2 separate regions of the Homo sapiens genome follow, and region 2 is linked to region 1. Evidence: promoter capture Hi-C in 16 types of primary human blood cells and fetal thymus (Javierre and others, 2016). All regions are on one chromosome and are shown on one strand. The core of a region is centred on a gene start or on the middle of the fragment in contact, and the rest is flanking DNA. Distances in the headings are between cores, read along the strand shown.

The links. Contacts are between HindIII fragments. The CHiCAGO score rates a contact against its expected background, and 5 or more counts as called.
Region 2: a fragment that was not itself captured here is called in contact with the fragment with the promoter of MORC2 in region 1 in 1 of 17 cell types (fetal thymus); the score reaches 5.2 in fetal thymus.

Annotation. Positions count from the first base shown.
Region 1 is chr22:30,967,524-30,971,571 of GRCh38, reverse strand. MORC2 (MORC family CW-type zinc finger 2) reads left to right here and starts at 2,798. Exons shown (of 26, transcript NM_001303256.3): 1 at 2,798-3,750. The coding sequence starts at 3,683. TUG1 (taurine up-regulated 1) reads right to left here and starts at 2,307. Exons shown (of 3, transcript NM_001396518.1): 1 at 1-2,307. The coding sequence starts at 2,215. The coding sequence ends at 1,754. RefSeq lists a silencer at 1,787-2,036 and an enhancer at 2,067-2,396. The HindIII fragment of the contact is 3,441 bases long and covers 154-3,594 here.
Region 2 is chr22:30,586,830-30,590,877 of GRCh38, reverse strand. It overlaps PES1 (pescadillo ribosomal biogenesis factor 1), which reads left to right. Exons shown (of 15, transcript NM_014303.4): 2 at 1,608-1,687; 3 at 2,704-2,857; 4 at 3,483-3,592. Among named protein-coding and RNA genes, the nearest start is that of PES1, 3.1 kb to the left of the region's middle. RefSeq lists an enhancer at 3,034-4,048. The HindIII fragment of the contact is 5,514 bases long and covers 1-4,048 here.

The sequences.
Region 1 (4,048 bases), core at 1,549-4,048:
TTCCAGGTCCAGGTCTTGAAAATCTGGAAATCTGGAGTCCATGGCTGTGGCTACACTGAAAGTTATCTGCTCCAACTATTGCAGAACACTGTAGTGAAATCTTTTCAACCTCCAATCCTGGACATCTCATGTTTTGCCACAGAATTTCAAGCTTTGAGTTCCAGTTGTTTTTTTTCCCTCCTTTCTGCTGAGGAAAGCATCTTATCACCACAGTCTTAAGTCTTTTGAGGTACATCCGGATTTAATTACAAAAGAGCAAAAAGACCAACACTTTTTTTTCTCCAAGTCATTTCTCTGGAAGTGAGATTATCTGTCTCTGCCCTTTAGGAAAAGGGAATAGTCAATTGATTTTTTCAGACATTTGAATGAAATAGCATAACTGGCTAACATCTAATCAGACAAAATACACTTAAATGTGTTTGTGTTCACTTGCTTAGGGCTGTACCACTTGGTGAGCACCACTCCACAAAACGAAAATGTTTGAAATCCAATTGTTCAAACATTTTTATAGTGTTTGTTGGATAATGGCCTGAAATTTGATAAAAGCAGCTGACAACTAACAAAGAAGCAAAAACTGGCATCTTGGACATCCTAGTATTACACTTGCAAGCAATTAGAACACAAGGAGGGCCAAGGAAAAAGTTTAGCTTTGAATCACTTCCAAATCTACTGATTTTGAGGTTCCGCAGTAGTTCTAACAAAACTTTTCAGACAATGTTAACTTTCGATTAAGAAAGAAAAAAACCCCAAACATCTTCAGGAATTCCATGCCAGGTTCAGTCTCTTCCAGTGAGCCCGCTTGCTAAAAGTCCACGTGCACCATTAATTAGCTGGGCTGGCAGCACCATGTAAAAAGAAGCCTATTCACCACCAACCACACAGCCTAGACATGTAAAGTAGGATCAAGTAATGGATGACAACCATGGTCGTGGAATATGGTCAATGAGAGTCAGAAAAGTACAGGCACCAGTACAAGCAGCAGATAACAGAGTTGACGGGCCAAAGGATAAAATAGGCTTATTTAAATAGGATGCTACAGAACACATCCACTCCTAATTGTAGCTGCTTTACACTGGGTGCCATTGTACCATATGCATCAGCCACCCTTCAGGCACCCCATGGTGAAAGAAAAGGATTCAGAATAGAAGCCAAGCAGGGGACTGTTGTTAACCCCGAATATCCATTATGCATAGAAACAGCTCACATATCCCAGGGACTCAAACAGGGCTTCAAAATGGTTGTGAAGGGTCCCAAATGACATCTAGGCCTCAGTTTCCTCTCTGTAGCATGAAGAAATTGTGATTCTTAACTCTTCTGGGTCACAGCCCCCTTGGAAAACTTGCTAGCGATGGATCATCATTCCCCTAAAACGCACATTCCCACAAATTCCCATCATTCCCCCAAACCGCACATTCCCACAATTTCAGGAAGTTTGGGGATCCCCAACTCCAATCCAAGGTTCCCAGGTTCAAAACCCAAGGATTGGGGAACTGCTAAGTTTTCTTACAACTCAAAAAAAATTATAAACAATAACCATCCTTTACGTACACCCACGCTTTATAGTTTACAAAGCGATTTCAACCCCACACACATTGATAGGCAGAGGAGGAAACTGAGGCGCAGACAAATTACAGAGTGACTCGCCTAAGGTCACTCCGCCAACTGGTGGCTAGGCCCGGAAGAAAACCCAGCTCTTCCGACTCCGGAGCTCGTCTCCCCACCCCGGGGCTGCCGCCAGAGCTCCCGCCCCTCACTAAGGCGGCATAAGGAGGAAAAGGCAAAGTAGAAATCCCACAACCAACCATCCTCCGGCCCCCTCCTGCCCCCCCAACTGGGTCCTTGCAGGCCCCGAAGGGTGGCGCCAGGCCTCCAAGCCGGCCCCGGCCACCCCCGCCTCCCCGGCCGCTCCAAATCCCGCGGCCGCTGCCGCCGCCGCCTCCCCCGGAGCGGGGCGGAGCAGCTGCCCGCCGCCGCCGACCACCCGGACGACTCCTCGTCGAATCGCAAACGCATAGGCCGCCGCCCGAGTTCTGCGTACGAGAAGAAAGACGCGGCGCGAGCGCCAACGGCCACCGGGCGCGCGCCGCGGCGGCCGGGCCTGCGCCCCAAGAGCTGGATGCCAGAGCAGGAGAAAGAGCCGCCAACCGATCGCTCGATCGACCGCACGCCCGTTCCTTCGCCCTACCAGACCCGGGAGGGGGGGAGGGCGCGCCAGGGCTTCTTCGATTTAGGGGCCTGACTCCCCGGCGACGAGACAAGATGGCTCCTCCGGTCCGCACCGCAGCTACCGTCCCGGCTGCGTCGCTCGGCCCGCCCCCGGTACTGTTTCTTTAAATGGCGGAGAGGGTCAGGAAAGCAGGAAGAGAGGCGCACGCTGTCACGTGACAGGGGCGGGACCGGCCAACCAAGATCCGGTCACATGGGGACACGCAGCCCGCCAATCAGGAGGCTGTACATCAGGGCGGGGGCGGGAGGAGCTGCAGCTTTGTGATTGGCTGAATGCTCCGCGGAGGCCTCGGGGGCTTGGGGCGTCGGGGAGTGTGCGAGGTGGCCGGGGCTGTGTGCACTATCGGAGACAAAGCGGTGGCTGTGGTGTCTGTGACGGCGGCGGCAGAGCAGCTCTAAACGCCGAATTTCGTGTTGCTGAATCCTGTCACCATCTCAACTAGCGCGGCGCGCGGGCGGCGCGCGGGCGGCGGCGGAGGCAGCGGCGGCGGCGGCGGAGGCGGCAGCAGCACATGGTTCCAAGAGCGCTCTGCGGCTGTTGGGTTCCAATTCCGCGGGGAGGGACAAAGGCAGTTGTGAGATCCGGGTAGTGCCCGGTCAGGTGGTGCGCTCGCCACTGCCCTCGATCCGGTCCTTGGAAGCCGGGAGTAGCTCCTCTTCGTGGGGAGGCGGCCACGGGACCGAGGCCCGGGAAGGGCCTGGGAGGCTGAGGCTGTTGTCTGAGGGACGTGGGGGCGGGGCGCGGCCTGCCCGAGGTGCTGTGGGCGGGTCATTTGTGAGGTGTTTATGTGGGCCAAGTGTGAGGTAATCTGACCACCACCCTGAACTGGGTTTGGTCCGGCTTTGAAAAAAGAAATCGTGAGTGCCTAGGAGCTTTTTCACTTGGGAGGTGGTGAAGCTGCAACTTGCGCCATATAACACTCCGTCGACATCTTGGTCTCCGGTCTTGGGCCTGTTTAAGAATCCTGGCATCACGTGTGGCGAAGACATGGCTGATCAGTTTTCTGACAGAAGTGGGTAAATTTCCGCGTTGGTAAATTTCCTGACAGGAAATTTCGGGGAACCAAAAAAGGCTGGAAGAACATGAAGATGGAGCAGTCATAAACCACCCACTCAAGGACCATCTCCTTCAGGACCATCCACACGAGACTCAGATTGTCTGAATTGAGCTATCGCAACTTAATGCTAAAAGCTCCTTAAAGCTACAGATTTATGACATAGTTCCTTCCAAAATATTACATCATAAATCATTGAGAAGATTAAAAAAAAACACTTGAAGAAATTGTAGTTTTAAACATCTCTGCATATATTTTGGATAGCTACTAGGTTACTTTAACTGTCATTAAGGAGCACAGACTTACTGAAGCTTTACTGGACAGAATCCTGGGAAATCGATATCATTATAAGGTTATATTTCCCAGTTAGCGGGTGAAGGGCTGGAGACCTTATTGCAGTCATGGCTTTCACAAATTACAGCAGTCTGAATCGAGCTCAGCTAACCTTTGAATATCTGCACACAAATTCGTAAGTATCCTCTAGGTGCCACTGAGGTAACCAGTAACTCGTTCCTTGATATTATATGGAAATCGTTTCCCCAGAAAATTTTGCTTTTTCACTTTTTGAGATGTATCCCACTGGAGTGAAATGTGTCACTGGATATCTTGAGCTCTGTATTGAAGAACTGAGATCAGTGAAATACTTGTTGCTAATCCAGAAGAATCTGATTTTTGTTTATTGGATCAAAATTTTCTAAATGCAAACTTTAGTTATTTGAAGTCAATATGTTGAGTTGTTTCATTCAAGTGTTTATAGGAATCCAACA
Region 2 (4,048 bases), core at 1,198-3,697, 380 kb after region 1:
CAGATGTAGATATGTAACAAAATCGTTACAGTTTTTAAAAGCTGGGTTTCAGAGCCAGAATCAACAAAGATGAGTCTTTGTTGTGGGAAGGATTGTCTTGTGTGTAGTAGGATATTTGGCAACATCCCTGATCCTTTACCTACTGGATACCAGTAGCACCCAGCAACCAAAAATGTCTCCAAACATTGCTGAACTCTCCTCCCCCCAGCACATACCCAGGGAGTACCCCATTGAGAACTATTTATTCCCTTAACATTTATAAGGATAAGCATGGTGACAGAGATAAGTGTGGCATAAGGTAATGGAAAACGCTATAAATGAAAACTCAACTTCTTAAGGCAGTCTGAAACTCATCTTTATACCTCCAAGACTTAGCATGGGCCTAATACCTAATAGACAATTAATGTCTAAAGGAAAGAATGAATGAAGGGTATGTTTCATGACTATGATGTTATTAGTAAACGTACCTGTGGGAGACTAACAGGTTTGTCTCTTTAGAGCTGAACCTAGCCAAAGAGGCCCCTGCTGTCTTAGTCCAGAGGAAGATCTTGTTTGGAAACGACATGCTTGTTAGCTTGCAGGGTATTTGTTACAGTGCACTGATTGTCTCTATCGAGGGATACAGAAGTGTGAGGGATACAGAAATGTGGGTGTGAGGCAGCATCTTAGCACCACAGGCATCCAGATGGTTATACAAGACAATAGGCTTCTTAGGGGCAGGTAGAGACCAGGCTTTTTGTCTTTATTGCCTTCATAGCATCTAGCTTAGTGCTTTGACCATAATAGAGGACCTGTTATTGTCTGTTGAATGAATGAATGAGGAAGGGGAGAAGCTGTGTGGCTTAGAGCATGCTTTTTCAGCCAGGGTAATACCACCCTCAAGGGAACAAAATTGGTTGAGGGGCAGTATCTTAGCTATTACAATGGTTGTGGCTCCCCAAGGACTACATTACATAAACAGACCTACAGTATATCTCTGGTATTAACATTTTATGGGGCATAGGGAAGAAAGGGTGATGGGTGAGGGAGGAAGGGGGTGTCTAATAAGTCTCCTGGTAGTGGTGAAGAGGTTATAATGAGGAAGAAAAGAAGGGGAAAAGATTAGGAACACTGGCTTAGCTATTAGGCATTCAGGTACTGGACTCAGACCTGAGTTTGAATCCCAGCCCCAACTCTTAAAAAGCTGTGTGCTTTTTAAGAGTTGCATGGGTTATTTTACGAGCCCGTTTTCTCCTATGTGAAATGGACGTTCGGACAGCACCTACATCACAGGGTTATGGGAATTAAATGAAATGTGTGAAAATCACTAATTGTAATGGCCAACATTTAGAGCTAGTGCTAAGCACTTGGCACAGCACCCTATCCGTAGCAGCCTCGCAGCCCTCAGCATCATGCAGATGTATGTGTTCCCTATGCTGACAGCCGCAAGGATGGTACAGGAGAGCTCATCCAGGCAGGTCGGCTCCTTCCCTGCAGTGTTTCCTCTCCTAGACTCATCTCAGCCACTTATCCAGAGTGATAGTTGCCTCTGGAACTAGGCATGCCCAGAGTTTGATGTCAGTCACTACAATCATTGCTAATGGAGAATTGTTTTTTTCCTCTCCCAGTATGAACGAGGCTCGGCCACCAACTACATCACCCGGAACAAAGCCCGGAAGAAGCTCCAGCTGAGCTTGGCTGACTTTAGGTGAATATAGAGGGACCGTGGGAAGCCCGGGCAGTGAATTGCACATTGAAAACTCAGCTGCATCCCTGTCTTACCTGAGTTGCCATACCCATTCTGGGGTTCTGGTATTCCTTCTCTTTCTCACCGCCCTTGCTTTAGTGAGTTGTGTTTGCTAGGTGTGGTCCAAGGGAAAATGGAGGAGAACTGAACTGGATTGTCAGGATGGGCTAGCTGGGCTGGGATGGGCTGGGCTGGGTCCCTGCCATCCATCCCCTCCTATCTGGTAGAAGAGACCCCTGATCCTGCAACTAGGGGTTCTCATTCCTCATAGAGTCAAAATAAGACTTCACTGTGGCCTGTGGGCCCTGCCCTCTGGCGGTCCCTGGCCTTTGTGGCTCACCTGGCCCACTTTTTTTTTTTTTTTCCCCGGAGACAGAGTCTCACTCTGTTGGCCAGGCTGGAGTGCATTGGCGTGATCTCAGCTCACTGCAACCTCCACCTCCCAGGTTCAAGCGATTCTCCTGCCTCAGCCTCCCGAGTAGCTAGGATTACAGTTGCTGGCGACCGTGCCTGGCTAATGTTTGTATTTTTTTTTTAGTAGAGATGGGATTTCACCATGTTGGCCAGGCTGGTCTCCAGTTCATGACCTCAGGTGATCCTCCTGCCTCAGCCTTCCAAAGTGCTGGGATTACAGATGTGAGCCATCACGCCTAGCCACCTGGTCCACTTTTATTCCTTCAAACACACCAGCTGTTTCCAGCCTTCTGGACTTTGTCTCTTTTGTTAGGATGCTTCTCTCCTTTTTATGGCTGAAATGTTGATATCTCAGAAAGGCCTTTCTTAACTCCCCTAGAGACTCGCAAGTCTGCGTTTTTGTTTTATGATTGTGACTGTCAGACTCATGTACTAGGATGTGAGGTCTCTAAGGGCAGGGACCCCATGTTCCCCATTTACTGTTGTTTTCCAGGCCCAGCTGTGGCCAGTGCTCCCCACCTTTACCCACATAACTGACATAACAGATGGCCTCTGTCTTCCAGGCGGCTGTGCATTCTGAAGGGCATTTATCCCCATGAACCCAAACACAAGAAGAAGGTTAACAAGGGTTCTACAGCAGCCCGAACGTTTTACCTTATCAAAGACATCAGGTTTCTCCTCCACGAACCCATTGTCAACAAGTTCCGTGAATACAAGGTGAGGTCTGGGCTCTAGGGTCTGTCAGGTTCTCATCGCAGCTCTGTGACCCACTAACTAACTGTGACCTTGGGCAGATTGCCTACCCTCTCTGAGTAAGCCTATACAGAGGGCAGGGTGAGCCTCAACAGAAGTACTTGGAGGGAAGAGGTCGGTTAGTTTGGAGGACCTGGCCCCAAAACAGGACTCCGTTGCATTTTTCTGGGTGTCTCAGTGTCACACACAGACCCACAGCTTGTTTCATGCTGATATAGTCTGGTGTTGGCAATGGAGGCCAGCCTTTCTCATCCTGTCAGTGTCAGGTCACTTGGCTTCTGTTCTCAGTTGAAAAACGGAGCTGCTTTGCTGTGCCATCCTCCCATGTAAACGTGTGGAGTTGGGACATCTGTGCATTGTCAAAAAGGGTGCCTGGTCTAGCTCTGCTGGTTAACACACCAGGCTTGGTGCTCCTTGGAGTTGGCTCTTTTGCTCATCCTGGGCAGAGGGGTCAGTGACACAGGCACATAGCCGTGGCCAGCTTCAGGAGGCATGAGAGTCCTTCTGCCCTGCGTTTCCATCTTCCATGGAAGAAGTTGTCCAGGAGACCTGAGCCTCAGCATTGAGGTGTTTTCTTTCTTTCTTCCAGGTGTTCGTCCGGAAGCTCCGGAAGGCTTATGGGAAGAGCGAGTGGAACACTGTAGAGCGTTTAAAGGACAATAAGCCCAACTACAAACTCGACCACATCATCAAGGAACGGTGAGCCGGGCTTTCCTCAGGACACTGCTGTTTCTTCATTTACTGCTGGTCTCTGCCCTAGCACCAGGGATACAATAGGGAATAAGACCAAGACCCTGCTCAAAGAGCTTGCAACTTTTTCAAGGACACAGACCAAAAACCAAGCTAGCAAATTACTATAATGATTACGAGGTTTGTAGTTACAGGCTTGTCAGAGGGGTCTCTGAAGGGAGACGTTTGAGCCAGCCCGCGGAAGCACAATCCAAGCAGAGGCCATGGCAAGTGCAAAGGCCCCATGGTGGGAGAGCCCCAGGGCTCCATGAAGGCACGACGGGTACCTGGTGAGACGTGGGAAGCATGGCTAGACACCTCTCGTCTGAACTGTTCCTTGCCCAGCCTTCTCAGACTCAGTTCACTGCAACCTCCACCTCCCAGGTTCAAACAATTCTCCTGCCTCAGCCTCCTGAGTAGTTGGGA